2 separate regions of the Homo sapiens genome follow, and region 2 is linked to region 1. Evidence: promoter capture Hi-C in 16 types of primary human blood cells and fetal thymus (Javierre and others, 2016). All regions are on one chromosome and are shown on one strand. Each heading gives the region's core, a stretch centred on a gene start or on the middle of the fragment in contact. The rest is flanking DNA. Distances are from core to core; before and after follow the strand shown.

Region 1 (3,267 bases), core at 368-2,867:
CTGACACCTCGCTCGGGGATCCCACTCCACTTCTGATCACCTTTTCACTGCTGTGGGGCCCTACCAAGTTGCCCCCCCCGCCCCCCAAAAAAACAGTGCCACCTGAACACAGTCTCTGCTTCAGGATCCCTTCACCTACCTCCGGTCTCTCCAAAAAAGACACAATTCTTCCTGGACACTCTCAACGCTTCCTCCCCAAACTCATTCTGCCTGCACGACACACACACGCTCTCCAGTCCCGGGACTGCACCTCCAGGAGCCAGCACCCCCTCCTCAAATTCCTTTCTCAGTCTATCCATTACGCATTCCCTTTCTAATGAGACTTTCATTTTCCTAAACGAACCTCTCTCCCATTATCCACCATTCCAGCTCACCCTCCCTCCCACCGATCTCACCTTCTCCCTCTACACTTCCTCATTCTCTCCAACGCTTTAGCTTTTCAGCTTCCCATCAATTCTTTAGAAATCCCTCCCCAAATTATCCCCACTCTCCGTATCCCCTCTACTTCGGCTTCTCCATCCCTCATCAATTCCTCTTATTATTCCTCCTATCTCTTAATCTTCTCCCCTTTGGAACAGGGCACCACAAATAAATCTCACCCCCTTCAAAAACGTCTGATTCACGGGCCCCTTAACTTCTTCCTTCCGCACCCCACCCTCCTCAGACCCCCAGTCCTGGCACCTCTACCCTCCTCACACCCTAAGCCCATGTCTTTTCATGCTCAATTCTACCCTTAGCCCCTGTTTTCATCTTCCCAGCCTCCCTAGTCTTCCCACCCGTCTTCAGACCCCACAATCTCCACTCCATCCTCACACTTGATTCTTCATCCCCTTTATAACTCCCCCAACCTGAGGCTCCCCCAATTCCAATCTCCTTCAGATCTTTCTGCTCTCCAAATAACCAACCCCTCCACACTCAAGCTCCTCCTCACACTTCCCAGACCCAGAAATTCCCTTCTCAGCCTCCCCTGATTCTCCTCCCAGCACCCCCAACCCATGCTCCGACCCTTCAAGCCCGCCTCGGATCCCAGTTCCATTTCAGCCTGCCCAGTCATCTCCTCGGTTTCCCCTAATGGCACGCCCAGACCCTCCAAATCCTTCATCAGCCTTCCCGATTCCTTTTATTTGACTCCCATATTCCCCACCCAGCCGCCAATTCTCTTTTCAGATTCCCAATTCCTTCCTCTAGCTCGGCGATTCCTCCTCAGGACTCCAATTCCCTTCCCGGACCCGCCAATTCCTTCTCGGGACCCCCCCGTTCCCATCACAGACGCTCCAGTTACCTTTCAGGACCTCCCACCCCTCCCCGGGCCCCCTCAGAAAAGCCCCTCCAGCCCGTCCGGCCCGCGGGCCGCGCACCTTGCGCTGCTGCTTCTCCCAGGCCGGGTCCAGCAGCAGGTCCCGGTCCCAGTCGTCCTCCTGGGCCATGTAGTCGCCCATGCTGCCCCCGCCGCCAGCGCCATTGCCCGCGCTGCTGGGGCCGTACTGGTACGACTGGTTCGCCGCGTGGTAGTCCACCATTCCGCCGCCTCTCGCTCGCCCACCAGCCTGTCCGCTCCCGCCTCAGCTCCCGCCCCTCTGCCCGAGCCGCCGCCGCTACCGCCGCTTCAGCTGCTTCAGCCCGCCCTCCGCCCGCGCCTGCGCACTGCCCGCCGCGCCTGCGCACAGCGCCGAGGTTGCCGCCCTCCCGCGCGCGCGCGCCTGCCAAACCAGAAAAGGCACCAAGGCCGCGCTCCGGAGCTTGGCGCCTGCGCAGAGTCCCGCTTCCTGGCCGCCCGACTCAGCCCGGGGGCGAGCCGCGCCCCCTCTCCGGCGTGAACGCGCGCGTCGTTCGCGTATGGGCGGGGCCAGATCATGAATGATTCATAAGGGCAGGCCCCGCCATCGGACCTGAACCAGCTCAGGCTTGGAATGCACTGCACCGGGTTCCCATTCAGCGACACAAATTCAACAAATATTTATTGAACACCTATTCTGTGCCAGACTATGTTTTACGCAGGCACTAAAAACAGAAAAAAATCCCAACTTTCATGAAACTACCTTCTAGTAAAGGAAGCCACATACACACAAATCTACTTTTATTTTTATTATTTTTTGAGACGGAGTCTCGCTCTGTCTCCCAGGCTGGAGTGCAGTGGCGCGATCTCGGCTCACTGCAACCTCCGCCTCCCGGATTCAAGCAATTCTCCTGCCTCAGCCTCCCGAGTAGCTGGGAACACAGGCATGCTCCACCACACCCGGCTAATTTTTGTATTTTTTTAGTAGAGACGGGGTTTCACCATGTTGGCCAGGCTGGTCTTGAACTCTTGAGCTCAAGCGATCCTCCCGCCTCAGCCTCCCAAAGTGCTGGAATTACAGGCGTGAGCCACCGCGCCCAACCAACACACAAATTTTTTTTTTTGAGACGGAGTTTCGCTCTTGTTGCCCAGGCTGGAGTGCAATGGCGTGATCTGGGCTCACTGCAACCTCCGCCTCCCAGGTTCAAGCTATTCTCCTGCCTCAGCCTCCCGAGTAGCTGGGATCACAGGCATGTGCCACCACTCCTGGCTAATTTTGTATTTTTAGTAGAGACGGGGTTTCTCCATGTTGGTCAGGCTGGTCTCAAACTCCCGACCTCAGGTGATCCGCCCACCTCGGCCTCCCAAAGTGCTGGGCTTACAGGCATGAGCCACTGCGCCTGGCCTCAACACTCAAAATTTTAAAAAATATGTAGACAGGCACAGGGGCTCACACCTGTAATCCCAGCACTTTGGGAAGCTGAGGCGGGAGGATGGCTTGAGCCCAAGAGTTCAAGGCCAGCCTAGGCAACATAACAAGAACCTGTCTCTACAAGAAATGTAAAAATTCACTGGGCATGGCTGTGTGCACCTGTAGTCCCAGCTACTCAGGAGGCTGAGGAAGGGACATCACTTGAGCCCAGGAGTTCCAGTCTGCAGTGAGCTGTGATCACACCAATGCACTCCAGAAGCGAAATCCTGTCTCAAAAATATACATAAAAGTAAAAAATAGGTAGTATTGTATATTCCAAGGTGTTGAGTATTTGGAGAAAAATCAAGCATGGGCTGGAATGCAAATAAACTACTCAGGTAGGCTTCATGGAGAAGGCAGACATTTAAACAAAGGTGCGAGCCACTGCATCAGGAAGCATCTTAAATTTAAATATTCAGCCAGGCACTGGTGGCTTACTCTTGCAATCCCAGCACTCTGGGGAGTCAAGGCTGGAAGAGTGCTTGAGCCCAAGAGTTTGAGGCCAGACTGGGTAACATAA
Region 2 (3,282 bases), core at 262-2,761, 280 kb before region 1:
CAATTTTGGTGTTTTAGGCATTGTTTAAAGCACTTTACAAAGATGCATTTGTTCACATCTAATGTTATCTACAGACAAAAGTAACTCTTTATTCTTCAAGGAAGCATTACCTTTTTTTTTTTTTTCTTTTTTTTTTTTGAGACAAAGTCTCACTCTGTCGCCCAGGCTGGAGTGCAGTACCTCAATCTTGGCCCACTGCAACCTCTGCCTCCTGGGTTCAAGCAATTCTCCTGTCTCAGCCTCCTGAGCAGCTGGGACTACAGGCACCCACCACCACGCTCGGCTAATCTTCGTATTTTTAAGTAGAGACGGGGTTTCACCATGTTGGTCAGGCTGGTCTCGAACTCCTGACCTCGGCCTCTCAAAGTGCTGGGATTACAGGCGTGAGCCACCACGGCTGGCCAGGAAGCATTATTTTTAATGCTGTTTAAAATAATAGTAGGCTCAGTGGCTCATGCATGTAATCCTAGCACTTTTGGAGGCTGTGGAGGGTCACTTGAGCTCAGGAGTTAAGGCCAGACTGGGCGACACAGGGAGACCTCCCTCTCTACAAAGAATCAAAAAGTTAGCTGGTTGTGGTTCTGCAGGCCTGTGGTCCCAGCTACTTGGGAGGCTGAGGCGGGAGGATCACTTGAGCCCAGGAGGTCGAGACTGCAGTGAGCTGTGATCACACCGCTGCACTTCAGCCTGGGCGACAGAGGGAGATCTTAAATAAATAAATAATAAAACTGACCCAAACGCCGCTTGACACGCAGTAGCCCTCCATGCAGCTGCTTCCCACCTCTTGCTCTAGCAGCCCTAGCTCTGCCAAAACCCCACCGTGTTTTTCCACCCCCGTTTCCCTCGGGGCTCCGACGGAGGCACACAAGTCCAAGAGCGAATAACCCTCCCCCTCTAGCCTCGTCCCTGAAGCCCAAGTCCCCCACTTACCACAAGTTAGGGACGTGTTGAGGCCATGGAGAAGGCCAGACCAGGACATCCTGCCACCTGGGCCGTCCCTGTGGTAGGGGATAAGAGACTCAGAAAGGAGGAAAAAGTGACCGATCCGCAAATGCTCCCCGATCCGCTCTCAGGACTTTCTGGCTTAAATCAAAGGAAATACCTCTATAGGTCTAACCACAGGCCCTCATGCTGCTAACAGAAAGTCCCTCCGTAAATTTAGCCTCGCTCTGAGTGGGTTCCCGAGGGCCCAACCACTCTCGCCCGCACGCAGGAAGAACTGGGAAACTGGGGAGATGGCCTGGTAGATTTGGAGGACCCCAGGATTCCACCGACCTCACAGGACCTAAAGGTGAGGTCGCGGACACGCTGAATCCAGCTTCTAGCCTCTTCCGGGCGCTATCCGTGCAGGGATTGGCTGGTTCTGCCTCGCGTCACTGAAGAGGCGGGACACAGACGACGATTGGGCGACGAAGGACTCTATCGCGGTCAACTTTCCTCAGGATCTGATTGGCTCGTCACGGTCAGGTTCGCTGCCTTGCAATTGGTCTAAACGCGGAGTGGGCGGGACGAAGTGCCGCCTTGTTCCCGGTCCAAGATGGCTGCGTCCATGGCGCGGCGCTTGTGGCCTTTGCTGACTCGTCGGGGGTTCCGGCCCCGGGGAGGCTGCATCTCCAACGATAGTCCAAGGAGAAGTTTCACTACAGAGAAACGAAACCGGAACCTCCTGTACGAGTATGCGCGCGAGGGCTACAGCGCACTCCCTCAGCTGGACATAGAGCGGTTCTGCGCATGCCCAGAAGAGGCCGCACACGCCCTGGAGCTCCGCAAGGGGGAGCTGCGCTCGGCGGACCTGCCCGCGATCGTGAGTGCGCCTGCGCCGGCCGGGGGGCGCAGACGTTTGCTTTACGGAAGAATTGGGTTTGCAAGATGCCCTCCGGCAGGGGGCGAACCTGTAGTAGGAATTTTAGTTATTTCCCAAGTTAGCCAACGTCTTGTGCATGGCACCCACTTATGTGCCAGTTGTCCAGTGAGTGCTGAGGCCCTACTATGTGCCAAGAATGCCTACTGTGTCCTGGACACCCATTATGCGCTTGTTTCATACTGCTCGCTGGGTACCTCCTGTCCTTTAGGAACTTGCTATGTGACATTGCCCTCCGTGCTGCAACCTCATGCCAGCCTTTCCCTAAGACCACAAAGGAAAATGGGGAGCCAAGTGTGAATCGGACGGGGTCAGGGCTGGGGTGTGGTGGAGCTCTTGCGTTTAGAGAGAGAGGTAGGGAGAGTTGTGCACCTCCGCCACACATAGCAGGCAGTTAAATAGAGTTAATGAATGAATGAATGAATCCATTAATGAATGGTTCTATTAAACTGATACTTAAGGTGCAACTGCTATATTCCGGTGTTCTAGATGTTGCAAATATGCGGTGAATAATAATAAAATTGCTAGCACTTATAAAAGGGAATTAGGACCGGGTTCACAATATCTCTGTGTTGAGGTGCTAACGATAGTGGGGTCCCCACGTCTTCCCATTCCTCTCTTGGACTCCCCTCCCAGCCTGTTTGAAGTGCTTTATTCACTTTAACCTCGTTTAATTTTCACAGCAACTCTATGAAGTAGGTGCCATTATTTCTCCCATTTTATCAGAGGGGAAACTAAGGCTTCGAGAAGCTAATTCACTTGCGCTAGGTCATGCAACTGGGAAGTGGCAGAGTGGGAATTTTAACCTGTGCTTTCTGGCCTAGAATCCACTTTTTTTTTTTTTTTTTTTGAGATAGGGTGTTGTTCTGTCGCCCAGGATGGCAGGATGGAGTACAGTGGTACAATTATAGCTCACTGGAACCTTGAATTCCTGAGCTCAAATAATCCTCCCACTCAGCCTCCCGTGTAGCTGGGACTACAGGCAGACACCACCACGCCCGGCTAAACTTTTGTATTTTTTGTTGAGACAGGGACATACTATGTTGCCCAGGCTGGTCTTGAACTCCTGCGCCCAAGTGATCCTCCCACCCTGGCCTCCCAAAATGCTGAGATTACAGGCATGAGCCACCACACCCAGACTCCACAATCTTAAGTACCCTGCTGTGCCCTCTCATGATCTGAGTTCACAGTCTAGTAAAAGACATTTTTTTTTTGAGATGGAGTTTTGCTCTTGTCTCCCAGGCTGGAGTGCGCTGCGACTTCTGCCTCCCAGGTTGAAGTGATTCTCCCACCTCAGCCTCCCGAGTAGCTGGGATTACAGGCACATGCCACCACATCTGCATAATTTTTGTATTTTTAGTAGAGACGGGGTTTCACCATGTTGGCCAGGCTGGTCTCGAACTCTTGACCTCAAGTGATCC

What was found. The method cuts DNA at HindIII sites, captures the fragments that hold promoters and counts their contacts. A CHiCAGO score of 5 or more calls a contact.
Region 2: the fragment with the promoter of SARS2 here is called in contact with the fragment with the promoter of ACTN4 in region 1 in 1 of 17 cell types (naive CD4 T cells); the score reaches 5.1 in naive CD4 T cells.

Annotation. Positions count from the first base shown.
Region 1 is chr19:38,645,999-38,649,265 of GRCh38, reverse strand. It overlaps ACTN4 (actinin alpha 4), which reads right to left and starts at 1,617. Exons shown (of 21, transcript NM_004924.6): 1 at 1,359-1,617. The coding sequence starts at 1,520. RefSeq lists silencers at 1-94, 1,278-1,357, 1,588-1,777. The HindIII fragment of the contact is 8,558 bases long and covers 1-3,267 here.
Region 2 is chr19:38,928,992-38,932,273 of GRCh38, reverse strand. It overlaps SARS2 (seryl-tRNA synthetase 2, mitochondrial), which reads left to right and starts at 1,511. Exons shown (of 16, transcript NM_017827.4): 1 at 1,511-1,804. The coding sequence starts at 1,538. MRPS12 (mitochondrial ribosomal protein S12) reads right to left here and starts at 1,330. Exons shown (of 3, transcript NM_033362.4): 1 at 1,276-1,330; 2 at 931-998. The coding sequence starts at 979. RefSeq lists an enhancer at 1,427-1,886. The HindIII fragment of the contact is 9,584 bases long and covers 1-3,282 here.